Regions from separate parts of the Homo sapiens genome. Here all the other regions are linked to region 5. The links are contacts of gene promoters, found by promoter capture Hi-C in blood cells and fetal thymus (Javierre and others, 2016). All regions are on one chromosome and are shown on one strand. The core of a region is centred on a gene start or on the middle of the fragment in contact, and the rest is flanking DNA. Distances in the headings are between cores, read along the strand shown.

Region 1 (2,700 bases), core at 144-2,643, 600 kb after region 5:
AGGTCCTTATGTGGACATTCACTTTAAGCTCATTTGGATAAACACGTGGATTGTGGTGGTTGAATTGTATTGTAGGACTGTGTTTTAGCTTTGTAAGAAATTGCCATACTGTCCTCCAAAGTGGCTGTACCATTTTGCATTCTCATCAGTAATGAATGAGAGTACCTGTTACTCCACCTCCTCCTTAGCATGTGGTGTTTTGAATTTTAGCCAATTGAATGGTGTGTAGTAATATCTTACTGATGTTTAATTTGCAATTATGGTATCTTACTGATGTTTAAATTGCAATCAGAAGTATTTACTGATGTTTAGTTATATATAGCTAAATATTGACATATAGCATATGTCAATGATGTTTGGCATCTTTTTATACTGTTTACCATCTGCATATCTTCTTTGGCGGGGTTTCTGTTTAAATATTTTGCCCATTAATTTTTTACCTTATTATGAGTTTTAACATTCTATGTATATTTTGTATACCAGTGCTTCAGCAGATACATACGTATTATGCAAATATTTTCTCCAGTCTGTGGCGTGTCTTTTCATTCTCTTAACAGTGTCTTTCACAGAGCAGAAGAGAACAGGAGGTGGCCTGAGCAAGGGACTGAGCCAAGTGCTTGTGGAGGGCTCAGGTTCTGGGCCGTAAGATGCGATTTCCCATTCGCCCACTCCGGATCTCTGAGGCCACTCCTGACGGCAATCTGCATGAGTTCTCCAAGTGCGAATAGGAAGGAAACCTGGATTCGGCCGCTGGGAGACACAGGTGGATCTCAAAGGTGGCTGTGCGGCAAATGACTGACACCTACTGGCGGCGTCACGATCTGCAAAAAAAGAGAAACGCGGAAATCCTCAATCAGCTGCTTTCCCGACTGCTAGTGCCACAAATGCCATCCGGGCGGCACAGCCACCGGTCCAGATCTCCAGTCCTGAGCACCTGCGAAAGCCGCCCGCACTCACTCTACGGGGTGCGGATAGTGCTCCCCACTCAGACTCCGGGGATCCCGCGGGCCGACAGATCTGCGCCGGGGCCCTGAGCCGCCTGAGCCTGTACCTTCGAGGCCAGTAATAGTCGGAGCCTGGAAACTGTGCACCCACTCGATTCCAGCTCTGCGCCACTTGGTGAATCCGGACCACAGGGTCCCAGACAGCCGCTGCCGACGCCAGGGGCGAGGCGCAGTGAGCTTCCTCTCGAGTTCCTCTCCCCGCGCCAAGTACTGCAACTCGCTGCGGAGACAGCAGAGGTCTGACCGCCCCGCTGAGGTCTCAGAACAGCAAAGCAAGTTACTGGGACTGCCGAAGTCCCGCGTGTCCCCCGTTCCCGCGGGTGCCGGGCCTGGAGAGTGCTAAGCACCCTGAGACTCGCGCTTTCCTAGCGCGTGAATCCCAACCGTCAACCGAACACTGCGCTCTTCGACTCTGTCCGATTCTGCAGACGTCCGAAACCTCGGAAGCCAAAACCGTGCTTGAACTCACTGCCCGCGCCTCATCTCTCCTCATGGGCAGTTTCCTGAGCAAACTGGAACTTTCGCCCTCGTCCCCAGCCCAGGTGCGCACCGACTTGCCCGAGAGGCCCACGAAACGCCGGCCACCTCAGCCCCTTCACCAAGTTCATCGGGTTCAGTTCGTCCACCGCGCCCACCCTGCCCCACGGTATAGACCTGTGAGGAGGCGGCCAAACCTGGATCCTGCCAATCCAACCACGTGGCTGGCCAACGAGGCCTGGAGGCGCTTTCCCATGAAGAAGTCCCAGAATTCCCCCCTGGGGCCTCTCCCTTCAGACTGGTGGGAAAGTTACTTAAAGCGGACTATTTGGTCTCTTCGACATCCCAGGCCAATTTGGAGCCCAGTGACCATCAGGATCACTCCTCCTGACCAGAGAGTGCCCCCTTCCACTTCTCCTGAAGATGTAATTGCCCTTGCAGGACTCCCGCCCTCTGAGGAGCTCGCAGATCCATGTTCAAAGGAGACAGTGTTGAGGGCCCTCAGAGAGTGCAGAAAAGGGAAAGGGAGGTTGGAAGAACCACTATTCCCTGAGAGTCTGGACAGTAAGAGAAGGAGTCCAGAGACCAGACCATCGGCATTTAAGCCCCTGATGAAAAATGGAACCCTCACTTCTTTTGTGCCCAGGCCTGGGCCGCTGAAGAGAAGTCTCCACTCCTGGGGCTCAGATCACAGCTTGACTAAGAGGCCCAATTGCTCCTCCATGAGCTCCTTGGCCAGCATATACAGAGGTGGCACCCTCAGCTCCAAAAGGAATGCTATTGGCAGCTCTTACAGCTCTTGCAGAAATTTCTCAGACCCTTGGAAGAGAAGTGTTCCCAGTGTATCATTCGAGACACCAGAGTGGCCAATAAAAAAGGAAAAAAGTTGTCATCGGCCTTCCTCTCCAGTCCCACTGGTATCAGATTTTGAGTCCCTAGGAGGATCTGAAAGTTCTGGGCAGCAAAACCAGAAGATTCCACAGCTGCCGTCTAGCCCTGAGAACCTGGTGTCAGAGATCCCACCTCCCCAGCTTGGTTATGCAGTCTCTGATGAGAACTTGACTTTGGGGAAGAAAGCTGAGCTACAGGTAAGCAACAACGCAGGAGAAGATACAACTGAGGTCAACACAGACCCTTTCCCTGAGACTTGGCTTGCTATTCAGCCTTCCTTGTCTCTTGCTCTGCCTTCTTCAGAAACAGATCTAACCCAGGGAGCAAA
Region 2 (2,700 bases), core at 201-2,700, 710 kb after region 5:
TAATCAGCCTTAAGGACCAATAAAATAAGAAAGAAAAAACTGCTTAAGATGCCATCTTTTGTTTGATAAATGTTTTGCCTAAAAATTGGAAAACTGGGCAAATGTAAAATGTAAAATACATTTGAAAATATGTCCTCAAGGCTGGGCATGGTGGCTTACACCTATAATCCCAGCATGCTTTGGAAGTCGAGGCCGGCAGATCGTTTGAGCTCAGGAGTTTAACACCAGCCTGGGCCACATGGTGAAACCCTATCTCTACAAAAAATTAGCTGAGTGTGGTGGAGCACTCCTGTAGTGCCAGCTACTTGGGAGGCTGAGGAGGAAAGAGCACTTAAACCTGGGAGATGGAGGTTGCAGTGAGCCAAGATCACTCCACTGCACTCCAGCCTGGGTGACAGAATAAGACCCTATCTGGAAAAAAAAAAAAAAAAAAAAAAGGAAGAAAAGAAAAAAAGAAAAAGTCTTCATATTTAAAGAATTAGTGAAAATAGAATGAGACATCAGACTACCTTAAATCTCTCTTTTTGAAAGGTGTTGTCAGGAAGTGAATATTTTCATGTTCTGCATGGTTTGGCTTTCTGGGCAAGGGAAATTGACACATTAGTGAATGTTCTGGTTTCCCTAGACCAATTTGCTTCTCACATTTCAAAAGTGTTATCTCATTTGAAGGATAATACAATTTCTCTCTCCTGGAACCATGGAGACATTTTAAGGCTTATAAACACGGAGATGCTTATCTTATCTTCCACTCTGGAGACATTTATTTACATCCCAAGAGTATGAATCCTGAGACTTTTCCTCTCTCTTTTTATAAGAACTTGTTTAAGGCCAGGCTAGGTGGCTCGCGCCTGTAATGCCAGCACTCTGGGAGGGCGAGGCGGGCTGATAACCTGCGGTTAGGAGTTCGAGACCAGCCTGGCCAACATGGATAAACCCCGTCTCTGCTAAATATACAAAAATTAGCTGGGCATGGTGGCAGACACCTTTAATCCCAGCTCCTCGGGAGGCTGAGCAGGAGAATCGCTTGAACCCAGGAAATGGAGGTTGCAGCAAGCCGAGATCTTTCCATTGCACTCCAGCCTGGGCAACACGAGCGAAACTCTGTCTCAAAAAAATAAAAATAGGCCAGGCGCGGTGGGTCACGCCTGTAATCCGAGCACTTTGGGAGGCCGAGGCGGCCGGATCACGAGGTCAGGAGATGGAGACCATTCTGGCTAACATGGTGAAACCCCTTCTCTAATAAAAATACAAAAAAATTAGCCGGGCTTGGTGGTGGGCGCCTGTAGTCCCAGCTACTTGGGAGGCTGAGGTAGGAGAATGGCGTGAACCCAGGAGGCGGAGCTTGCAGCGAGCCAAGATCGCGCCACTGCACTCCAGCCTGAGTGACAGAGAGAGACTCCGTCTCAAAAAAATAAATAAATAAATAAAGGCTGACAAAGACAGCACAAAAAAGAAAACTGCAGACCAATACAACTCATCAACACAGATACAACAATTTTTAACACAATATTATCAAATAGAATACAGTAATAGAGAAAAAGAATTATACACTATGACTGTTATTGGCTGAATTGTGTTCTCCCAAAATGTATATTCTGAAGTCCTAACTCCCAGTTCCTTAGAATGTGACTATATGTGGAGATAAGATCTTTAAAGAAGTTATTAAAGTAAAATGAGGGAATATGGATGAGCTCTAATACAATATTACTGGTGTCTTTATAAGAAGAGATTAGGGGCCGGGCGCAGTGGCTCATGCCTGTAATCCTAGCGCTTTGGAAGGCCGAGGCGGGCAGACTACCTGAGGTCAGTAGTTCGAGACCAGCCTGGCCAAAATGGCGAAACTCTGTCTTTACTTTAAAAAAAAAATACAAGATTCAGCCAGGCCTGACAAAATTAGCACACGCCTGTAATCCCAGCTACTCGAGAGGCTGAGACAGGAGGTAGGAGGCTGAGCGGGAAGCAGAGGTTGCAGTGAGCCGAGATTGCACCACTGCACTCCAGCCTGGGCGACAGAGCGACACTCGGTCTCCAAAAAAAAAAAGAGATTAGGACACAGGCAACACGCAGACTGAGTGGTTAATCATGGGAGGACACAACGAGAAGGCAGCCTTCTGCAAGTCAAGGAGAGCTACCTCAAAAGGAATCAAACCGGCTGACACCTTGCTCTTGGATTTCTAGGCTCAGCTGCGAGAAAATACATTTCCATTGTTTAAGTCCACCCATCTATGGTAGCCCTAGCAAACCAAGATAATCACCAAGTAGAATGCAGGGGTGGTTCATGGCCAGGCGTTGTTGCTCACACTTGTAATCCCAGCACTTTCAGAGGTCTGGGAGGCCAAGGCAGGAGTATAACTTGAGGTCAGGAGTTCTATGACCAGCCTGGCCCACGCTGGGAAACCCTGTTTCTACTAAAAATGCAAAACATTAGCCGGGCATGGTGGCATGTGCCTGTAATTCCAGCTACTCTGGAGGCTGAGGTACGAGAATCACTTCAACCTGGGAAGCTGAGGTTGCAGTGAGCAAAGATCTCGCCTTTGAACTCCAGCCTGGATGACAGAGCAAGACTCCGTCTAAAAAAAAAAAAAAAAAAGAATGCTAGGGTTGTTCAACATTTGAAAATTAGTCAACGTAATTAATGTACCATAGTCACACCAAAGGAAGAAAATCACATTATTATATTAATTGATGAGGAGAAAAATT
Region 3 (2,700 bases), core at 27-2,526, 790 kb after region 5:
TCTTAGAGACGAGGTCTCGCTATGTTTCCTAGGCTAATCTCAAATTCCTGGCCTGAAGTGGTCCTCCTGCTTGGGCCTCCTGAGTCGCTGGGATTACAATACTGTCTAGTATGAAGGAAGTTTGTCTTGATATGTTTCCTGCTCAAAACAAAATGCAACTTGTCATTTTCAAACTCTAAAATTCTTCTGGTGTGTTTTAAAATGTCTATACTGTAATAGCAAATAAATTAACTTTTATGACAGGGAATTGTTGCTTTGTCATTCAACTTACTTGTCTGGTAAGCAAAATGCCTTGGGTTCAAGTCCTCACAGAATTTTGTTTTTGCATTGTGTAGCCTTCCCTGATACTCATTTCTTTCCATAAAACTGTCACCCCTAGATAAAGCCTCATTTGCTTCATCTTGTAGGTTTCACACCTAACCCATAAGCATTTGGATAGTTGGGAGAAGCTATAATGGTATATCATTTATTTTATAATAGTATGTAAGATTGATAATGGGACAAGTCAATAGCTTCCACATTGTGTTTAGGCTTTCCAGCAAAATTGGATTTAAATATCATATTTAAATATTTATATTTATAAACTTAAAAAATCAATTTTATGTAAAAAAGTTATATTGGAGTTTATCAAACTAATATACATATATATTTTCTTTTTGAGGCAGGGTCTGGCTCTGTTGCTCAGGCTGGAGTGCAATGATGCATTCTTGGCTCACTGAAATCTCTGCCTCCCAGGCTCAAGTGATCCTCCCACCTCAGCCTCCCAAGTACCTGGGACTATACCTGGCCAATTTTTTTTTCTTTTTTTTTTTTTTTTTGGTAAAGACAGGGTTTTTCCATGTTGTTGAGGCTGGTTTCGAACTCAAACTCAGGTGATCTGCCCATCTCAGCCTCCCAAATGCTGGGAATATAGACGTGAGCCACGATGCCAGGCACAAACTCATTTATTTTAATTTACTTTTAAATTAATCATGTTACAAAGTCAATACTTTAAAGTTTATAGATTTGAATTCTAAAACTTCTTTGTTTTATTGAGATTTATACATACATGGTAAAATATTTGGTTAACTCACCATGTTCTGTAAATGATGATGTCATTAGGACTAAAGTGTTCATCTGTACTTTTAAGAATTAAAAGAAGACATTGTTTTAGAAGACAATTTCAGGAAATGTTAATAATTTAAAATGTAATGGCCTTGGTTACTTTTCAGTTGCTTTTAGCTTATCTTTTTCCCTATTATGAATATAAGTTTTATGAATATTTTTGTGTATGTTTTTTGGTGTACATATGTGCCCATTTCTTTTGTTGAGACGGATTCTCAGTTTGTCATCCAGGCTGGAGTGCAGTGGCACAATCTCGGCTTACTGCAACCTCCGCCTCACAGGTTCAAGTGATTCTCCTGCCTCAGCCTCCCGAGTAGCTGGGACTGCAGGTGGGTGCCACCATGCCCGGTTAATTTTTTGTATTTTTAGTAGAGATAGGGTTTCACTATGTTAGCCAGGATTGTCTTGATCTCCTGACCTTGTGATCCACCCGCCTCGGCCTCCCAAAGTGCTGGGATTACAGGCATAAGCTACTGCGCCCAGCCTGTGCTCATTTCTTTTGAGCATATAATAGGAATGGAATTAACAGTTTTTAAGGTAACCATATATTTAGGTTTAGTAAACACTGACAAATATTTTTCTAAAATGTATAAACCAATTCAAACTCCTATAATATAAGATGATTTTAATTGCTTCAAATTTTTGCCTTTATCTTGTTAGGCTTTAAGTTTTGCCTTTCTGAATAGGATGTGTTAGTGATATCTCACTGTTGCTTTCATTTTCAGTTTCCTGATGAGTCATAATATTGTGTACCTATTCATATGCTTCATATACATTGAATGTCATTTAGTGGAAGAGAATGTTCATGTCTTTGCCCATTTTTAAATTATTTGTACTTATCGATTTGTAACAATTTTTTCCATATGGACTTTTCCATATGGACATATCATTGACCTAACTAACGTAATTTGTTGAAAAGACAACCCTTGCACTGCAGTGTTACCTTTCTCATGAATCAGGTGACTACACACATGTTTCTGGCTCAATAGCAATCATTCTCATTACCATAGTTTAAGATAGGGGTTGGCAACTTATAGTGTAAGTTCTCCAACTGTGTTCTTCTTTATAATTGGCTTTTCATTTTCATAGAAGTGTTAGAATCAGGAAGAAATACTTCCTAACTCAGAGGTCAACAAACTATGGCCCACAGACCAAATATGACCCACCACCTGATTTTCAAAAAAAGTGTTATTGGAACACAACCACATTCACTTATTTGTGTATTATCTATGTCTACTTTCCCACCAGAACAGCAAAGTTGAGTTGTTGTGACAGAGACCTTATTGTCTGCACAGCCTAAAATATTTACTATCTGGCTTCTTAAAATATTGGTTAACTTAATTCGTTCCATAGGGCAACATCATCTTGATACTAGAACTGGACAAATATAAACAAAGAAACTTATTGACCAATATCCTTCATGAACAGAGATACAAAGGTTCTAAACAAAATTTTAGAAAATTCAAATTCAGTAATATGTAAAAAGAATAATACATCATGATCAAGTATTCCTGGCTTTTCCAAAAAATGTAGAGTTGGTTAAACATTAGAAAAATCAATCAACATAATATACCATATTAACAAACTAAGAAATCT
Region 4 (2,700 bases), core at 60-2,559, 660 kb after region 5:
TGCAGCTCCCCTTCCTGGTCCCCACCAGCATCCCAACTCCTTTCCCCCAACATTGCCTCTTACCTCTCATCACTGAGCCAGGCCCAAGGCTGCCCTCACCCCCTAGATGCAGGAATATGGGTCCATCCTGGCCAACCCAATGTTGGTCATTCACCCAGTAACGCTGAGAGGTGGGATGGGGAAGAAGAAATGGCACTGTGAGAGTCCTGACTTATTCTCAATTCCTCATTTGTTCCAGTCTCTCTTCCTAATGGATCTTTCCTTATGTACTTAACAGTGTCTGAAATGAGCTTGTTTATTTACTTGCTCACTTTTCCCCTGTTCATCTCCTCATCTAGAATGCAAAATATACAAAAGCAAATTTTTGACCTGGTTTTTCACTCTTATATCCCCAGAACTGAGGGAGTGGCTCTCACATTGAAGGAACTTGCTATTTCTTGAAGTAATAATTGTAAAATAAGAAATAAATGCAGATGGATTTAGGAATAAGATCCAAGTGGGATGATATTTGGAGACTAAATACAGAGGAAGCACTGAAAAATGGCGAATTTGTTCCTTCTTTCGATAGATATCTTTGAGTGCCTGTTGTGAGCTAGGTCTGATTCCAAAGCTGGTTCAAATTTCTGCTACCTACTGAGACCTGGTGGTAGGTTTTGTGTCCAGTCTGGACAGGGACAAGGGGGTAGGGAGGAGCAGTGAATGTGAATGACAGAGAGAAAGAAATGGTGAAGGGCAAGATCTGAGGGACAAAACGAGTGGGACCCCGAGGAGAGGAGAGAGTAAGGCCAAATCTACAAAGGGCAGGAAAAGGGATACTGACAGCAAGCATAACATGAGATTCAAGCAGAGGGATGGGGAGAACTGAGGTGTGGAGAGAGAAAAAAGTGCAGACTGAGGAAGAGATGAGGGAGACTGAGGAGAGGGCAGGATGGTTAGTGGACTCCCCGTCTCCCGGCCTCACCTGTAGGAAGGATCGTCTGTCGGACACGTTGAAGGGGTCCAGCAGTTGCTCCAGCCACCCCACTTTTGGGAGGGCTGCAGCACCTGGCCCCAGGCTCAGGCCCAGGCCCTGGGCAGAGCTCTCCTGAAACTGCTGAATGTGCTCACCCAGGCGCCTAAGAAGGGAGGCTGTGGGACATGGAGGGAAGGAAGTCAGGCTGGCCCCCTTAGGATGCCCTGCTTGACCCTCAGCCTCCTCTTACCTGGAGCCAAGAGTCCCCAGAGGGAAACCAAGAGCAGAGGGCCCAGCCACTGGGCAAGCCAGACGGCCATGGTGTTCGGGACTCTGTTCTCCCCCAGGAGGACCTTTATCTTATCCTCAGCAGCCGGGCCTTAAATCCATCACCTTTCAGCAGAGGCTCAGGTTTCTTTCCTTTCCTGGCAGGTCAAGCGTCTGTAGGAACTGCTAAAGCGGGGCAGGGACGCCAGAGTCTGTACACAGAGGCTGCTGATGCAGCATCGGAACTCCCAGTTTCTTCTCTCTGGGCCTCTCAGTCTGTTCTTCCCTCAGCTCTCAGTAGCCCTCGCTGTCTCAGTCTCCTCCTCTCCGCTCTTCGGTCTACCTTCTCTTTATCTCAGATTCCTCCTTTGCATGCCTTATTGTCCTTCAACCTCTGTCTCTCCCCACCTCAGCACCTCCTCTGGAACCCCAGTTGCCCACTTATTCTCAGTCTTTTCTTTCTGCCCCTCAGCATATCTTCAGTACCCCTCAGTTGTTCCCACACTCAGTCTTTCCGTCTCTTTTTTCTCAGTCCCCCATCTCTTTTTCAGTCTTTCTCTCCATACTCATCTCTTTGTCCCCCAATCTCACCTTGTCTATTTTCCAGCCCCCTCACTTTCTGCTCTGCTTCACTGTCCCGAGCTTCTCTGACCCACAATCTCACACTGTCCATAGACTCCTTACAGTTCTTTGAACATACCAGGCTTGCTTCTGCCTTAGGGTTCTTATTCTTGTTGTTCCCACCCTATGGATTGTGATTTCCCTATATACCCACGTGGTTTGCTCCCTCACTTCAACTGGATCTTTATTCAAAGGTCATTCATTCAGAAAGGTCTTCCATGGTCAGCTTTTTAAAAATTGCCAAACCTATGGCCCTCTTCTATTCCTTTTCAAACTTTATTCCTAATTCTTTTTCATGGGACTTATCACTATGAGAAATATTGTACATTTAAAAAGTTATTCCCATAAATTTAAAAAATATATCCAGAATCTGATGACTTCTCACTACCTTCAGTGCTACCACTGCTGAGCCACCATCATCTCTGACTTGGGATATCATGGAAGGCTTTTAGCTGGTCACCCTGTTTCTGCCTCATGATTTATTCTACACTCAGCAGACAGAGAGACAGAATTAAATATTAGCCCAATCATTCACAATCATTCACTCCCTGGTTTAGAACACTTCCCTGATGCCCCATCTTACTCAAAGTAAATCTAAAGTTTTGAAAACAGTTTTTAAAACTCTGTATGACCTGGCCCCCTGTTGTATATACTGTCATGATTTCATCTCCTACCCCTCCTGGGTTCACTGCTCCAACTGCATTGGACTATTTCATATTTCACAAGACTCACTCCTTCCTTAGAATTTTTGCTCTCCTTAGGATGCTTTTCCTCCAAATATCTGCAAGTCTTATTTTATCACTTCCTATAGTTCCCCATTCATATATTTTATCTTACCAAATGGGTTTTACCTGACCACC
Region 5 (2,700 bases), core at 166-2,665:
TTTTAAGAAAGTTTACAAATTTGTGTTAGGCCACGTTCAAAGCCATCCTGGGCTGCGTTCAAAGCCATCCTGGGCTGCATGCAGCCCGTGGGCCTCAGGTTGGACAAGCTTGATTTAAAGCATCCACCTGCCTGTTAGTCACTGAGTAGCCATCTCGGTTATCAGATCGTCAGAACACAGAGGGGTGAGTACACTAGAATAAGGTGTTTTGAAGAGAAAAAAAGAGAGGGACACCACATTCACATAACATGTATTACAATAAATGGGGGTCTGGAGCTGTTATACTTGCTGCATTTTATTAATTATTGTTCTTAATCTCTTACTGTGCCTAATTTATAAATTAAACGTTATAGTTGTGTATGTATTAAAAAACATAGTATATATAGGGTTTGGTACTACCCACAGTTTCAGGTTTCTATCCACTGGTGGTCTTGGAATGTATCCCCCATGGATAAAGGGGGAACCACTGTATCATCTTCATTTTACAAATGAGAATTGTGGAGATCAAAGGGTTAGAAGCATTCCAATATAATGAATGTAACTAATTAGAGAGGGTAGGGATATGAGACCAGCCTGTCACCTTCAAATATCATATTACTAAGGAATCTATACAAATTCTATGAGCTTCTAGAACGAAAAGGATATGTCTCCTTAAATTGTGTCTGATAACTTACTAGATACTGTCTACATGGCTTTTTTGAGGGAAGGGGAATAATGGGAGGTGGCTTTAACTAATGTTAACTGATTTCTACAATCAGGGAATCTCGCTGGCCTTGAAGAGAAATTAGAATGAATTCAAATGACAGGAAACTGTATCTACATCTACCTCACAGTAGATATCTAGGTAGGAAGAATGAGAAAAATACATTTACAAACAGTAAAATATCAAAGGATACATTATGTGAATTTGGAAACTGAAAATATGGCTTAAGATTTTTGAAATTAGGCTGGGCACAGTGGCTCACGCCTGTAATCCCAGCACTTTGGGAGGCTGAGGTGGGCAGATCACCTGAGGTTGGGGTTTGAGACCAACCTGACCAACGTGGAGAAACCCCATCGCTACTAAAAATACAAAATTAGTCGGGGTGGTGGCACATGCCTGTGATCCCACCTACTGGGGAGGCTGAGGCAGGAGAATTGCTTGAACCTGGGAGGCGGAGGTTGCGGTGAGCCGAGATGGCGCCATTGCACTCCAGCCTGGGCAAAAGAGTGAAACTCTGCCTCAAAAAAAAAAAAAAAAAAAAAAAAAAAGATTCTTGAAATTCGATTCAATTTGCTAATATGCTGTTACAGATATATAAACACTTTTTAAATACTTGGATGGATAAATATTTATATTTTTATCAATACTTTTTTCACATTATTAATTGGATCAGTCTGTAATTTTATGTAAATTGATAGCAAAATGATTATAGCTGACAAAATCAGGAAGTGTGTTGTTAACTTCCTGACTTCTTATATTTCAGAGAACGAAGAGTTGAACCATTTAACATGAATTGGGTAAATAAGAGTGTCCCACAGGAGTTCATTCTGTTAGTTTTCTCAGATCAACCATGGCTAGAGATTCCACCCTTTGTGATGTTTCTGTTTTCCTATATCTTGACAATCTTTGGCAATCTGACAATAATTCTTGTGTCACATGTGGATTTCAAACTCCACACCCCTATGTACTTTTTTCTTAGCAATCTCTCACTCCTGGACCTTTGCTATACCACAAGTACAGTTCCACAAATGCTGGTAAACATATGCAACACCAGGAAAGTAATCAGTTATGGTGGCTGTGTGGCCCAGCTTTTCATTTTCCTGGCCTTGGGTTCCACAGAATGTCTTCTCCTGGCCGTCATGTGCTTTGATAGGTTTGTAGCTATTTGTCGGCCTCTCCATTACTCAATTATCATGCACCAGAGGCTCTGCTTCCAGTTGGCAGCTGCATCCTGGATTAGTGGCTTTAGCAATTCAGTATTACAGTCCACCTGGACACTTAAGATGCCACTGTGTGGTCACAAAGAAGTGGATCACTTCTTCTGTGAAGTCCCTGCTCTGCTCAAGTTGTCCTGTGTTGACACAACAGCAAATGAGGCTGAACTATTCTTCATCAGTGTGCTATTCCTTCTAATACCCGTGACACTCATCCTTATATCGTATGCTTTTATTGTCCAAGCAGTGTTGAGAATCCAGTCTGCTGAAGGTCAACGAAAGGCATTTGGGACATGTGGCTCCCATCTAATTGTGGTGTCACTTTTTTATGGTACAGCTATCTCCATGTACCTGCAACCACCTTCACCCAGCTCCAAAGACCGGGGAAAGATGGTTTCTCTCTTCTGTGGAATCATTGCACCCATGCTGAATCCCCTTATATATACACTTAGGAACAAAGAGGTAAAGGAAGCCTTTAAAAGGTTGGTTGCAAAGAGTCTTCTTAATCAAGAAATAAGAAATATGCAAATGATAAGCTTTGCTAAAGACACAGTGCTTACTTACCTTACTAACTTCTCCGCAAGTTGTCCTATTTTTGTCATTACTATAGAAAACTATTGTAATCTCCCTCAAAGAAAATTTCCTTGACAAAAAGCTATATTTGTTTCTGTTGCCTAAACATTTTCATTGAACAAGCCCCCAGAATTGGCCTTCCAATGCACCAAAAACTGTAATCACAACATTTTCAAGGGTTGTCACACTTTACATCAATGTTTGTACAAT

What was found. Contacts are between HindIII fragments. The CHiCAGO score rates a contact against its expected background, and 5 or more counts as called.
Region 1: a contact is called between the fragment with the promoter of POM121L2 here and the fragment with the promoter of OR2B2 in region 5, in 3 of 17 cell types (naive CD8 T cells, non-activated CD4 T cells and activated CD4 T cells). The highest score is 7.3, in naive CD8 T cells.
Region 2: a contact is called between a fragment that was not itself captured here and the fragment with the promoter of OR2B2 in region 5, in 1 of 17 cell types (total CD4 T cells). The highest score is 6.4, in total CD4 T cells.
Region 3: a contact is called between a fragment that was not itself captured here and the fragment with the promoter of OR2B2 in region 5, in 1 of 17 cell types (monocytes). The highest score is 5.7, in monocytes.
Region 4: a contact is called between the fragment with the promoter of PRSS16 here and the fragment with the promoter of OR2B2 in region 5, in 14 of 17 cell types (total CD8 T cells, naive CD8 T cells, naive CD4 T cells and 11 more). The highest score is 14.1, in total CD8 T cells.

Annotation. Positions count from the first base shown.
Region 1 is chr6:27,310,966-27,313,665 of GRCh38, reverse strand. POM121L2 (POM121 transmembrane nucleoporin like 2) reads left to right here and starts at 1,393. Exons shown (of 1, transcript NM_033482.4): 1 at 1,393-2,700. The coding sequence starts at 1,496. It overlaps LOC105375107, which reads right to left and starts at 1,497. Exons shown (of 3, transcript XM_011515048.2): 1 at 1,474-1,497; 2 at 1,052-1,343; 3 at 1-821. The coding sequence starts at 1,497. The coding sequence ends at 454. RefSeq lists a silencer at 1,042-1,336. The HindIII fragment of the contact is 14,547 bases long and covers 1-2,700 here.
Region 2 is chr6:27,200,425-27,203,124 of GRCh38, reverse strand. No RefSeq gene overlaps it. Among named protein-coding and RNA genes, the nearest start is that of TRV-CAC6-1, 4.4 kb to the left of the region's middle. The HindIII fragment of the contact is 4,360 bases long and covers 1-2,700 here.
Region 3 is chr6:27,120,199-27,122,898 of GRCh38, reverse strand. No RefSeq gene overlaps it. Among named protein-coding and RNA genes, the nearest start is that of H2BC11, 11 kb to the left of the region's middle. The HindIII fragment of the contact is 5,298 bases long and covers 1-2,700 here.
Region 4 is chr6:27,246,310-27,249,009 of GRCh38, reverse strand. PRSS16 (serine protease 16) reads right to left here and starts at 1,309. Exons shown (of 12, transcript NM_005865.4): 1 at 1,203-1,309; 2 at 962-1,128; 3 at 64-163. The coding sequence starts at 1,272. The HindIII fragment of the contact is 3,507 bases long and covers 1-2,700 here.
Region 5 is chr6:27,911,111-27,913,810 of GRCh38, reverse strand. OR2B2 (olfactory receptor family 2 subfamily B member 2) reads left to right here and starts at 1,415. Exons shown (of 1, transcript NM_033057.2): 1 at 1,415-2,626. The coding sequence starts at 1,492. The coding sequence ends at 2,565. The HindIII fragment of the contact is 2,345 bases long and covers 111-2,455 here.